Linked DNA regions of Homo sapiens: region 1 is linked to region 2. The links are contacts of gene promoters, found by promoter capture Hi-C in blood cells and fetal thymus (Javierre and others, 2016). All regions are on one chromosome and are shown on one strand. The core of a region is centred on a gene start or on the middle of the fragment in contact, and the rest is flanking DNA. Distances in the headings are between cores, read along the strand shown.

Region 1 (6,786 bases), core at 2,034-4,533, 130 kb after region 2:
TAGTGCTGGTGGTTTAGATGTCTGTATAAACCTTACATTTAATAAAGTGCAAATTGCTCCCATTTTTCTCCCTGGGCCTCTTTGAATTGTCTGCTCCCTCTACATTCCTCCCCCAACATTATGGTCTATTAGCAAGACGAATGATCTAATTGCACACAAGTGAGAGTGTGAGAGAGACAAATGGAATACTGTTTTTGTAAGGAATTCAGGAGTCTCAGTAGAGTACTTGTGAAACTCATGATGCATTGTACCATCACGGGTGCTAAATCCAAGCCACGGCCCATTTCCCTTTAAGCATGCCTCATTACCATGTCCCCACAATCTGTTCATTGTAAAGTTACTTAAGGTAAACACATCTCAACTGTCATTGCTTTTATGAAATGACCTGTGTGTGAATATATTTTGGTCATATAGATACTAAAACTCTCTCTGACAATGACAAACTTAAAAATGCATTATTATTTTAAATTTAAGGATTATAAGTGGTTTTAATATTGTATAATAGGTAAAACTACCAAACAGGGTCAGATTCTCAATTTGAAAGTAAACATTACATATAATTTAACATTAGAGCAGAACTGTAAACTTCCCGTCTTTGGTAATAATTCTTTTCGTTGGTATTTTAAATATCTTTTTATAATTGGTGCTCTTAAGTTCTTTGTCCATGTGGTTCCATGTGGTTGAGCAGGTGCATTCTGGGCAAAATAATTGGTGACTAGCCATCTTGCTCATTTTAATTCATGTCTAATATTCCAATTATTCTAATATTGCAATTATCTTTTAGGTCTGTGGCACACCTGAATACATTGCACCAGAAGTGATTCTGAGGCAGGGTTATGGAAAGCCGGTGGACTGGTGGGCCATGGGGATTATCCTCTATGAATTTCTGGTTGGATGCGTGCCATTCTTTGGGGATACTCCAGAGGAGCTATTTGGACAAGTCATCAGTGGTAAATATCATCAGGAGTTATCTTTAGGTCACTGTTGGGAAGCAGCTATTTAATGTAAATCTGTTGAGTGTCACAGTTTTTACTACTAAAATGTTAACCTTTATCAAACAGTTGAGCCAACAAAAGAACTCACTCATCAAAGCATATAACTGACATTCTTAATCTCAAGAGAGCAATTTTTGTTGAAAATTGATCTGAAGAAATGTTGTTAACATAGAATTTGGAAATGTACTAGCAACAAAACCATTTTTTATAGTGTGCTTTTTCTGCAAAGGAAATTGGTGTGGGATTTACAGGCAATTTAATTGCCGTCCAGTCTTCCTTTCCATGATAGGAAAGTTACACCAGGGAAGAAAAGGTTAATGTGGGTAACATTTACATAAATAGGGAAAATGGCTAATGGCATAATGAAGAAGTTAACAAAAATGTAATAAACCCTAAAACAAATGTCTACCAAATAATAAATAATGAGAATGGGAAAGAAGCAAGTTGAATCCACAGATTGTTAATGATTTCATTGGTAGTTGTTATGGCGTAATGTTATTTCTGTAACAGCTGTTCATCTTTCATTTAAAATTCAATAACTTTTAGATCTTAACCTGCAAGCTGACCCTAACTATTGTATGTGGCCTGTGGCAAAACTAAATGATAATTAAATAGGGTGTATCACTACCCTACCTGCCGATTTTATAAATTTCCCTGGAACATACATCAGAAAGGCCTCTCATCTTGAAAGTTTGTCAGGCATCACTGACATCTTTATCAGCCACGTACGGTCTATTTGGACTGTGTTTACAAGGTCCAGCAGTGGAAGTAGGGGAAAAATTCATTTTGCATATGAGGGGCCCCTTTATCACGGCATTCTTTTCTATCTTTGATTTTGCAAGCCTTGCATATTTGTAAACTTTAACAAAGCAGATTTGTGAGTTGCCTGCAGTGTATGACCCCTTTATACAATATCTGAGCTGTTTATGGATTTATAACTAGGCTGTTTTCTGATATACTAAGGCCTGAATGGCAAAGGGAATCAACTGTTTAATTAACACAAGCAGCAAATGCTGGCTTTGTTCTTGATGCCTTACGGCTCAGATGCATATTCATGTTTTATTTTCCAAATCAGATTTAAACTGCAGCAGAGGAAGCTAGAGGCAGGCACACACAGAAATAACTCATGTTTTTATTGCATTTCCGTACACACAAGCACGCACACCTATCTTCAGGCAAACTCCTTCAGAATGAGAAAGTATTCTTAATATTTATGACAGATTTTAAATACTTCCATTACTATGATTACTTTGGGTTTTTTTTTCTTCTTCAGTCTTAGCACTTTGACCTGTTTGTTTGTTTGTTTGTTTGTTTGTTTCTGGAAATAGTTATTTTTACAAAATTACTTCTTGCTTCTTAGAGCTGAAGAACTCTATGGCTGTGGCCAAATTCTCAGTTGAGGAAATTAAGAGAGAAAAATCTGAACCTGAGATAATCCCTGGATGGATATATTAGCCACCTGAAATGGAAGTGTTTAGAGTTTCTATTATTTTAAGTCTTTTAATAACTAGAGAGGCAACTTTTTGGAAGCCAATTCTTTGAAAGAAAAATACATTTAAAAAGCAAATTAAAGATCTGCTTATTGAAATATTCTCTTCCTACCTTGTAAAAAATCTATGCTACTTATGTCTTGTAAAATAATGCTTCTCAAACATGACTGTGTTTAGGAATCGACTGAAGATCTTGTTGAAAGGCAGACTCTGATTTAGTAGGTCCGGAGTGGGCCTGAAATTCTGCCTTTCTGACAAATTCCCAGGTGATGTCCATGTTGCTGGGACCTGGACCCTCTTGTGAACAATATGGTTATAAACAACTTTTCTTCCTTCTAGATGAGATCAACTGGCCTGAGAAGGATGAGGCACCCCCACCTGATGCCCAGGATCTGATTACCTTACTCCTCAGGCAGAATCCCCTGGAGAGGCTGGGAACAGGTTAGAGCCCATGTGTTTTAATTTTGCTAATATGCAAGAAATAATGTCTACATGGAGCACTCTGAAGCTTTTGTTGTTGTTTTGCTTTTTGCATAGGCAACATCTGTTAGTTGATGTAGAACATGACTGCAACACATTATAGCAATAATATTTTGGATTTTGTTTTCTGATTCAAAACAGTGTGTACGCTAAGAGGGTTGGTTGTTTGTCTTTGTTTTTTGTTGTTTTTGTGTTTGGCAAAGCAGAAATTATGCTTAATTTGTTTCAATAAATAAAGCTTCTCTGGAAGAAAACCTCAAAGGCACATGTAACTCTTCTATCCCGAAAAGCATGCATCTTAAATAACTTGAAACAGAGGATTCGATATTTGGAACTCTTTTTGTTTTTGTCTTTAAATATACATCCCCATACGGATTTGACCCAGCACGTTACTATACACAAGCTTTGAAATGGGTTATCAGTACTTGGACTAATTACTAGAAATGAGTGTCTGGGGTTGAACCATGCTGTCCTGTCACAGTGATCAGCACCGTGACCCAAGAAAGAGAATTAAAAACCACTGTCTTTCAGGATTAACGAGATAGTAGATTTGTTTCTTGCTGATTATTTTTTCTGACTGTTCTGCCAGTATTTTATTCCCTTTTCTTCTCTGTATTCTGAATAGACAGACTTAGCAATCCCAGTATAGAGTCCCAGTCTGCCCAAGTATGTGAATTTATGTAGATGAGACTAAATATTAAATATAAATGCATATAGTCTAGCCAGCAGCCATAATTTTCATCAGTGAAAAGTGCTGGCTTGATGGGTTGTTTACTCTGGGCTGTTTCATTCTACCCCCATTTTAATAGAAATAACAGAAAATACTGAAGAAATCATTTTCTCCCCCATTTTTTTCCAAGACAAAAATTTGAAACAGTTCCAAATATTTATTGTATAGTATTCTCCACATTCACCCACCGATTCTCCTGTTGGAGGACCTGTTCTTACCTAAGTATAGACGAATGCTGTGCTACTAGAGTTTATGATAATGCATTACAGCAAGGGTCAGCAAGCTATGGCCAGATTTGTCCCACAGCCTGGTATGGTAAATAAAGCGTTACTGAAACACCTCCATGTCCACTCATTTAGGTATTGTATGGCTGCTTTCATGCTACAAGGGCAGAGTTAGGTAGTCATGACAGACCGCATGCCCTGCAAAGACTGAAATGTTTACTGTTTTGCCCTTTACACAAAAGCTTTCCAGACCCTGCATTAGAGAATCCAAGAAGGCTTAATATTAGGGCTTGACTAGACAACTTCTTTTAGTTGAGCCTCTCACTAGAGCACCTTGTGTCTTTTTTACCTTTTTCAGTGGTTGAGTGGACTTTTAACCTGAAAAGCCAATATAAATTGAGGTTGAGAGCATAAACTCCACAGTCAGCTAGGCTGAGTTTAAATCTCGGCTGTATGACCCTGGACAGGTTACTTCTTTTTGCATTGCTCATCTCCTCATTTGTGAAAAGGAGCTTTCCGAAGTGCTACCTCATAGGATTATTATAAGGATAAAAACAAATCATTCTAGGGAAGAGGAGGCATTCTGCTGGATGGCTTTTTAAAACATTTCCTCCAGAGTCATCTGCCTCATTAACAAGTTTTATCTTAGAATTATTTTCTAAGTTCATAAACTGACATGATTTTTTATTCTGTTATGAATGCGTACTGCCCTAGTCCTTCAATAAGCCCATAATATGTGTTTTTTGTTTGGTTTTTGGTTGGTGGGTGGGTGGGGTGGTTTGTTTGTTTGTTTAGAGATGGCATCTCACTCTGTCACCCAGGCTGGAGTGCAGTGGTGCGATCTTGGTCCATTGCAACCTCCGCCTCCCAGGTTCAAGCGATTCTCATGCCTCAGCCTCCCGAGTAGCTGGGGCCACAAGAGCATGCCACCACGCCTGGCTACTTTTTGTATTTTTAGTAGAGATGGGATTTTGCCATGTTGGCCAGGCTGGTCTTGAACTCCTGGCCTCAAGTGATCCACCCACCTCGGCCTCCCAAAGTGCTGGGATTACAGACATGAGCCATTGTGCCTGGCCCCATCATATATGTTTTAATCCCTGTTACCTGAGGTCAGGTGTGGAATTTTCCACTTGTGGTGTCATATCAGTGCTCAAAAAATTTCAGATTTTGGAGCATTTCGGATTTTAAATGTTCAGACTAAGGATGTTCAGCCTGTATTCTGTCCTGTATTTACTCCTCCAGGAAAACTTGGATCCTTGGTTGGGCTTGATTTAACTAGACAAGGATGTGATAATGATCAGCATCTCTGTGTTTATAAATCATAGGCTGCAAGTTACTTCTCTGCACATTTTCTTGTTGATTGCTACTTTCAGTCTTTTTAGGGTTTGACAGTTTGAAGAACAAATCCCCTAACAGAAATCCAGAAGAGACATTTAAAAGACCCTACCCAAGCTCTTAGAATTGTCAAGTGCTTGCCAAACAGGCCAGTCCAACATGACAGGTCCCAGTAGGGCCCAGAGACTGAGGCTGAGAATCCCGCAGGCCTGCCGTGCTGCTTCCAATGACAGCGTTTTGTATTTAATGCATATTTAGTGGGCAAAATAATGCACCGTGAAAATGTGCGAATGCACATTTGCCCAAGAGATTAGAGAGGCTGAGAAAAAGGGTGTGAAGAACATAATGGATGTTTAAGAAACTTCCATGAAAGGAGAGAAAAGGGAAAGTGTTAGTGTCAAAGCATAACTTGCAATTTGGGAGCTTGTGCTACTGGAACTACACTTTTGAACTTGTAGAATATTGAGTGGCAGCCTGACTCCCTGGACTTCAGAGCTGCTCAGATGTCACTGCTACCCATATCTTGAATAGTTTCTTCATTGTCCTGAGTCTCAGTTTCCTAGTCTATGGAAATGGGCATTTTATATACTTCACAGGATTATTGTGAGGAGTAAATGCAAAAATGTTCATTAAGGTATCTAGTTCATTTACTAAGTATCTAACAGGAGCTCAAGGTATAATGTTTCTTTTACCTTCATAATGAATTCTTACAATGAGAACTATCATTTGCATGAGTGATTTATTTTTAGCTCACGATGCTATCACCCGTATTTTACCAAAAGTTTAGTCCAGAGGTCATTTTCCCCCAATTTGTCCCTTTCTTTTCTTCCTTATCTCTCCATAAGTGCCTGAGAAACTGGACCCACTGATACCAGCTTCTCGTAAGTGAGGCACAAAGGCCAAAGGGTGAGAAATGTGAGCTAAATCAGCTATGGGCTGTAAATCCTTGAGGAGGACCCATTTGTCATTGTCTGCAGAGATGAAATGAAGGCTCTCAGCAGCTTGGGTCCCAGAGGATAGCAGGCAGGGGGTAAAACCCCTGACACTGGCTGCAGTCTGGTTGAGCTCTTGGCCCTAGAGAAACTGCTTTTCTGATAAAATCGAGCAACCCAAAATGTGAGGGCTGGGCCATTGATGTGGCCCCATGAGCAGCAGCTGAAGTGATAGTCATTGTAGTCTAGTGGAACCATCACTGCACTAGGAGTCCAGAGATGTGTGTTGTGGGCCACTAACTAGGGCTTTCCCTACCCAACACCCGCACCGTGCTGACGACCTCCATGTTGGATAGGGAAACAGTTAAGCCCTCTTAGCTTTCGTATTCTGTTTCTCCAAGTAAAAGAGCACTAGAAGAAAATAAGATGGGCAGTTGTGCATACGGACATTGATTAGGGATAGGTGAGAGCAAGGATGCATGGTGGGCTGGAGTGAGGCTCTCCAGAGGTGCTATAGAACAGCCACGTGAGTTGGCTCTTAGGCTCAGGTCCCCAGTATTGGCAGTTCTGAATCTGTTTGCAAAGCGATGCAAGAGAGGT
Region 2 (6,530 bases), core at 79-2,578:
CAGTGCTCTGTATCACCCCTCTCAGAGAAGCCTTTATCTGGAGCAGTGGTTCCCAACCAGGGGTGATTTTACCTCCCAAGGGACATTTGGCAATGTCCTCAGACATTTTTAATTGTCAGCACTGGCATCTAGTAGGTCGAGGTCAGCAATGTTGCTAAACATCCTCCAATGCTCAAGAAAGCTCCTCAGACAAAGAATTATCCAGCCTATGTCAACAGTGCTGAGGTCTAGAAACTGCTCCGGAGCACAGGGACACTCTTTTGTGTCAGCCTTCAAAACATCTTTTGCAATACTTAGAAACATTTTTTAAAAGAAGAGCATGGGGCAAAAATGCTGGACCAAGCTCATTAATATCTATTGAAGTGTGTTTTGTCATTTAGTGTCCCTGAATGTTTGGGATAAAGTCCCAAATGTAAAATTGAGAAAATAATGCCTTCTTTGTCTACCTCTGTGGGTTGCAAGGATCTGTGGAGGCTCTGTAAGAATGTGAGGAGATAACGCATACGAAAGCCTTGGACATGAAACATCATCCAAAACTCTTGGAGTCCTTGGTGTGAAAATATTAATGTGGGCCACAAGAATTAGATAAAGAAGATCCCACAGCAGGCTTCTTTTTGTTTACCCCGCCTACCTTGTCAGCTTACACCCCCTCTTCCTTCTCTTTATCCTCCCATTTTTGTAAGCGAGTTTGTTCCTGGTATTTACTGCATGGACTAAGCCATTTTTAGATGTATTTTTTGCTGAATATATACTTTTTTGATTTAGTATTTCTTGCCATATTACACCAGACTTAAGGCAGCTAATTTAAATTATATTTTTTCTTTATGTACTTTATACAAACATTCATGGATAGGGGGAGATATTTAAATACCATGCCTTTCTTCAAAATGAATAACAAGAACATTCAGCCCCCTTCATTCTGCCCTTTCAAGGTCTAACGTACTTGAAGGGGCAATACTTGTAGCATTTGCCACATAAATGCCAGGTAGTGTCTTTCCACATCGGGGCTCACCATTACCTAGATCTGTAGTTGCCGGCCATGAAGCCAAACAGGTGTGCACCGTGGTCATTGATGGAACAGATGTAAACTCATAAATTTAGTTTACTGAGGTTTTCGGTGAGTGTGGCTTCCCGTCCGCGTGCTTTTCCTATACAACCAGCGGCGTCCTGGCGGAGGAGTCACTGTGGACTTCCCCGGAGCGTTGTCACTGCCATCCCTCCCGCGGTGAATCACAGGTCGGCCTCAGGTGCGCGCAGCACACACCCGGAGCAGCCGCGGGTTTATTTATTTATTTCCGGGACGGATCCATTCCGGGCTCCGGGGAGGGGGAGCGGCGGCCCAGGCTGCGGGGCTGTCCCGGCACCGGCTGGGGTCGCGCCGCGGCCGCCTGCTCCCTTTCCCGTGAGCCCCCGCTCCTCAGGCGCGGCCGGGGCTGGTGGGGGGTGGGGGATGCAGGAAAGCTGGGGGCGCGGCCACCAAGCTGTCCAGGGACAAGGCCCTGCCGCCTCCTCCCAGCCGGACCCTGGAAGGGTCCACAAAGGTGTCAGGTTCAAGTCCTCCAATAGGCCCATTTTTTAAAAGTGCTTTTAAGTTTCCGCTTTTTTCAGGAGGGGAGGGCAAGAGCAGCTTTTTCTATTCAAATTCTTTTCCTTGTATGTAGATACCAAAAGGAAACTCGGCACTGGGCATGTTCGGATGTGAATGGTTTTGCTGATAAGCAACAGCCTCCGGAACCAAAGCCTCAAAATAGTCGTCTCCCCCGCCCCTCGCAGAAGCGGCGAGTGGTATCTGCCAAACAGATGACAAAGTACCTCCGACTGAATCCCACAGACAGCGCTTTGAGCAGAACGCACGGCTCAACTCATGTAATTACTGTTTATAGCTGGCCGAGCCTGACTAGGAGAGGGCAGACCCGAGAGGAAATCAGTTTCCCGGACCTTTGAGAGGAGGCTGTGTGTTAATTAAAGGCTAGGACGGGACGGGTACTTCTCAGACATGCTCCAAGTTGTTCTTGAGATCACAGTTCCCATCACATTTTCTCTGGAGGGAGTGAGTAGATAATTGGGATTTTTTTTTTATTTTTGGCCTTGTCTTTCTTCCTTTTTTTTACCTCTCCCCATTTTAGTCATATGGCCTTGAACCCACAGTGAATTGAAGAGAGAAAGAAATGGATATGTCTGACCCCAATTTTTGGACTGTGCTCTCAAACTTTACTTTGCCTCATTTGAGGAGTGGGAACAGGCTTCGGCGAACACAAAGGTAAAAACGCGGGGATCTCTGCCTGGAGAGGGAATGCTTTCACTTCCCAGGGGCCCACAGGCGGAGCTGCCTGAGCCCCTCAGGAGCTGGGGTTTTGTGTATTGGGTGACACTTTGAAAAGTTTATGCCCCGCTAGGGGAGGGGGTACTGTTTCAGGTATTTCTTCGTCCTTGTGGTTTCCTGGGTAACCCTGATAAATGTGCTTCTCATAGGTTTTCTCCTTTTGAAATGTGGATAATAAGACATTTCCTTGTGAGAGGTGGGGGAGAAAAAGGGAAAGAGGAGGAGATACTTTGTCTAAGTCTGTCCCTTTGACCTGATCATGTTTATCCATTTCATTCACCCAGTCATTGAGGCTTCTGGTACTTTTCGTTGAGCCCTTCAGATGTTCCTCTCTATTAAATATTTGACCTTTATAAGATGCAGATGTACGATGCAAGGATAGCCCAGGTTAGCTATTTCATACTATCTGTGGAGAGGCAGATCTACATAACTTTGTCATTTTGATTTTTCAATGGTTTGCTGGCATTTATTACTAATACAGGAGTGTCCTTTTCATTTTGTAACGTATATTTGATAGAAAAGATGGGGAAAGAAAAAGAATTTTAATGTCAAGATGAAGCTCATGCCACAAGTGACAGGCAGTTCCAAGAGTTTGCTGACACTTGTGTTGAGAGACTATGACTTTGAAGGAGGCATTTCTCACCACATTTGTGTCCAGCACAGAAAAGTAAGATTGTTGTACTTTTAGAGGGGCACACCTTTTGAGTTGTGTTAATACTGATTCTTTGTTTTCCTTCAAAACTTGCCTTGCATGTACATGTGAACATGCATGAGAGCAACTTTGCAGTCAGATAAACAGGATGCAGGCTCTCAGATTTGGAGCTTCACAATCTCTATGCTTCAGTGTTCAAAGAACCCAAGAAAATGGTTCGTTCTTTTTGGTTATACCTGTAACTTTTTGTAGTATAAATGTGGATATGTGATACTTTAGAAAACTTAGTTTTTCCTTTTGAAGTTTTTCATGGTTTCTTACATTTCAGAAACATCCTGGAATACTCACATACACTGTTTATATACATGGGTGCACACACAAATCACATGTGCACCTGTGTGTATGAGAGAGACATCTGGCAGGTTTCAAAGTCATATTTGCTTTTTGATGCAGTTTGAAGTGTTGATACCACTAAACTATGTTGGATTCTGAAGTTGTACCTTTTAAGTAATGTGACTATGTTTTTCTCGTTCTGCCATATATGGTCAGAGACCCTCTCTTGTAGTATTGCTCATTTTGTAGTATTGCTCATCAAGTTGTGTCAACCATGCACCAAACCTCCAAGACAACTAATAAAGTTGAAGAGAGATACATGCTACACATGAACTAGGCCACTGCTCAACATGGTGATAATTCGTATGATTTCTTACCATTTCAGCTGGACAGAATCCCTTAAATATTTCTGAGTTGTGTAGTCCTGGCTGCGGTACAGCCTCTACTCTTACCTGGAACCAGTTCTTAGGGAGAGAAGTCTGTTCTGGCATCGTATGTGTGTGTCTGAACCCGTAGAGCAGTTGGAGCCTTTCTTCTTCCTACCTACCTGTTGATAGTATTATTGGAGAGAGTCAGATGCAGGAGGATTCTCAGGCTGCTCTGAGCCTGGCTTTAGGGCAGTACCTGTCCAGCCTGAACACTCCAATTCAGACAGCTCACACTGACAGAGAGCCTAGATTCTAAGGAAACCTGAATTCTTCCCAGTAAAATGGGAGAGCATTGGGTGGGCTGTTTCCACCCCAAGTCATGAAACCGTATCTTCAATTTGGCAAAATAGAGAGGGAAGGGGATTTTCTTCTCCCCCTTTTAAGAGTAAAGGTTATGACAGCCTGTTTGTTGCTGGAGATTTTCAGGTTTTGCAGTTTGGAAATAAACATCCCAAAGATCATCTCTACATCCATCGAGTCATTGTCTGTCTCAAAGGGCTAGCATTGCTTTATATTTATTATGTAGATTCAGAAGGCTAGGTATCCTCATCTCCAGGGCAATGTATGTGGCTATTGCATCCTGTTATTATACAGTGATCAATTCTGGCTCCATGTCCTTCCCTAAGGACATGAAACATGTGCTTACATTGTGACTTCTACTTTTGAGATGCCCCTTAACTGTTCTAAATCCTGTTTCCTTTTCCAAGTCTAATGCTGTACCTTACCGGGCTGAGTAGTTTTTCTCCTTTCCAAAGGACCTTTCTGTTCGCAAGTTGTTCTGTTTTGCCATCCTCGATAAGGGTGTCCCCAGTGTCCAGGTGAGGACACCTTGCTGTCATCATCAGTCAGATATGCCTTAACCCTTGAGATATCTCTCATTCCCAAACTTAGTTCCTCTCCTGCACACTTGCTGACTTGTGTGACAGATTGTTCATTTTGAATATTTTATCCCATCTGTTTGTTCTGATTAACATTGTAATCTGGAGGACTTTATCTTAGCTTTTTCTTTAATATCAGCTTCTTGCATCTATCAAAGTAAAATTCAGCTTTGAGCCTATGAATGAGCATCTTAGAACTCATAAGGATAGAATGTTTGTCACACTTAAACGAGAGCTTGAATGGTTTCAGACTCTTACCTTAAACCTTTATTATGGTAGAAATTGTCATCATGGAAACTTTTGGTTTGCTACATTACGTTTGCCTTATAGTTCAATGTGATGCTGGTTTGTTAGTTTGTACTCTCAGAGAAAAATATTGAAGGTTTTTCTTAAAACCTACAGCCCTACTTGTGCCTGTAACTCTTGGGGTTCCTGAGGAAAGAAGCCTACAGACATACTCTCAGGCCTAGATTCTCAAAGATGACACAGTACTGATGAACTGAAAGACTCTGTCCCTTGTGCTACGTCCCAAGGACAGTATATTATGCCCTTCATTCTCTTTTGTCTTGACCATGGCAGACATGAGATTGTTGGGATGCACACTGGCTTTTGTCTACTCTGTTGCTGTATAGCTTACATGTTCCATTGGAAATAGTTCCTTCTATATAACTGGCTTTGTCCTCCTCTCCCTTCCCCTCATTTCCTCAAGGTAGTCTCAGTACAGCCATTCACCTGCTGCTTTGAGGGACAGAAACCTAGGCATAAATGAAGAGACTTTATACGAAAACTTGTTGCTTTAGACTGAAGTAATGATTGCATGTTTCAGAGATTTTCAGTTTCATAGGTCTGTGGCTATTCCATTCATTGAGGATCCTCTCACAACTCAGAATGGAAATTAGTTGGCCTGCATTCATGTCACTGCTTATGTTTATAGCATCTTTTCTTTGCCCATTGGATGAAAAACTTTTGGGGGAAACGAATCAAGCTTCTCTTTTAATTATATCTGCTCTCTGTCACACCTTAAGGAAAGGGCTACAATTGATTTCTAAATGTTGCTGCTAAGTTTTGAGTTGGGCCTTTAGTTTTGCTGAAGTGCAGTCTTGAGAATCCAGAAGATGCTTGTGTTTTAACCTTAATGTTTAGAAATCTGTCATGTTTTCATTTTGCTTAATGATAATCTTTCAACCTTGATGATGCCTAAATCAATAAAACCATTTTCCACGCCGATGGGTAGTTTGTGACTCAGTTCATCACTTTGAGCAAGTTTCCAAATGTCTTTTTCTGAGAACCAAAAAAGAAGTTTTTGGGGTTTTTATTTTGGTAGTTGTTTTTTGCAGAATTCACATTACTCAGTAATTGCTATGAACAGCAGGTACCTTCAGGGATCTTAAACTAAATCCTGTAGTTGTCAGGATGTATTGAATTTTTTATGCATTCGGCATCTTCCCTTCAGATACATCTGTAGTGTTTGATGAGTTTTTCCTTTGTTTTGCTCATGAATATATGTCATGACTATGAGAACTATAGAGAATCCTCTTCCCTCTTGCCCTGGTATTCCAGGTGTTAGTAAACCTGTACTCACCCCTTTTACCCAAATCCCAATTAACTCCACATTTATTAAGCACCTATTGTGTACCTGGGCACTGTGACCCAATTTTGAAAGCTGTAGGCATGCTTTCAATGAAGACAAGTAAATGAATCATTGCAAACCAGGACAATCAAGAAGTATTTACAAGGTACATATAAGCCATAGGAGCTCACATATAAGCTCAGTGAGTAAGAGAGAATTTGGTCTCAGGGAACCAGAAGAGACACCACATAGAAAAGGTTTTGAAAGATATTTGCTGTTGACGAAAGTGAAGAACAGAGCCTTTCCAAGGGGCAGGATAAATGGTGTGTACAAAGGCCTGGTGACC

The links. The method cuts DNA at HindIII sites, captures the fragments that hold promoters and counts their contacts. A CHiCAGO score of 5 or more calls a contact.
Region 1: a fragment that was not itself captured here is called in contact with the fragment with the promoter of MAST4-AS1 in region 2 in 3 of 17 cell types (megakaryocytes, endothelial precursors and activated CD4 T cells); the score reaches 6.8 in megakaryocytes.

The regions. Positions count from the first base shown.
Region 1 is chr5:67,133,739-67,140,524 of GRCh38, forward strand. MAST4 (microtubule associated serine/threonine kinase family member 4) reads left to right here. Exons shown (of 29, transcript NM_001164664.2): 18 at 785-950; 19 at 2,825-2,926. Among named protein-coding and RNA genes, the nearest start is that of CD180, 60 kb to the right of the region's middle. The HindIII fragment of the contact is 165 bases long and covers 3,202-3,366 here.
Region 2 is chr5:67,002,826-67,009,355 of GRCh38, forward strand. It overlaps MAST4-AS1 (MAST4 antisense RNA 1), which reads right to left and starts at 1,329. Exons shown (of 2, transcript NR_111908.1): 1 at 1,019-1,329. The region is part of intron 4 of MAST4 (microtubule associated serine/threonine kinase family member 4); the gene reads left to right. RefSeq lists a silencer at 1,207-1,546. The HindIII fragment of the contact is 7,419 bases long and covers 1-5,597 here.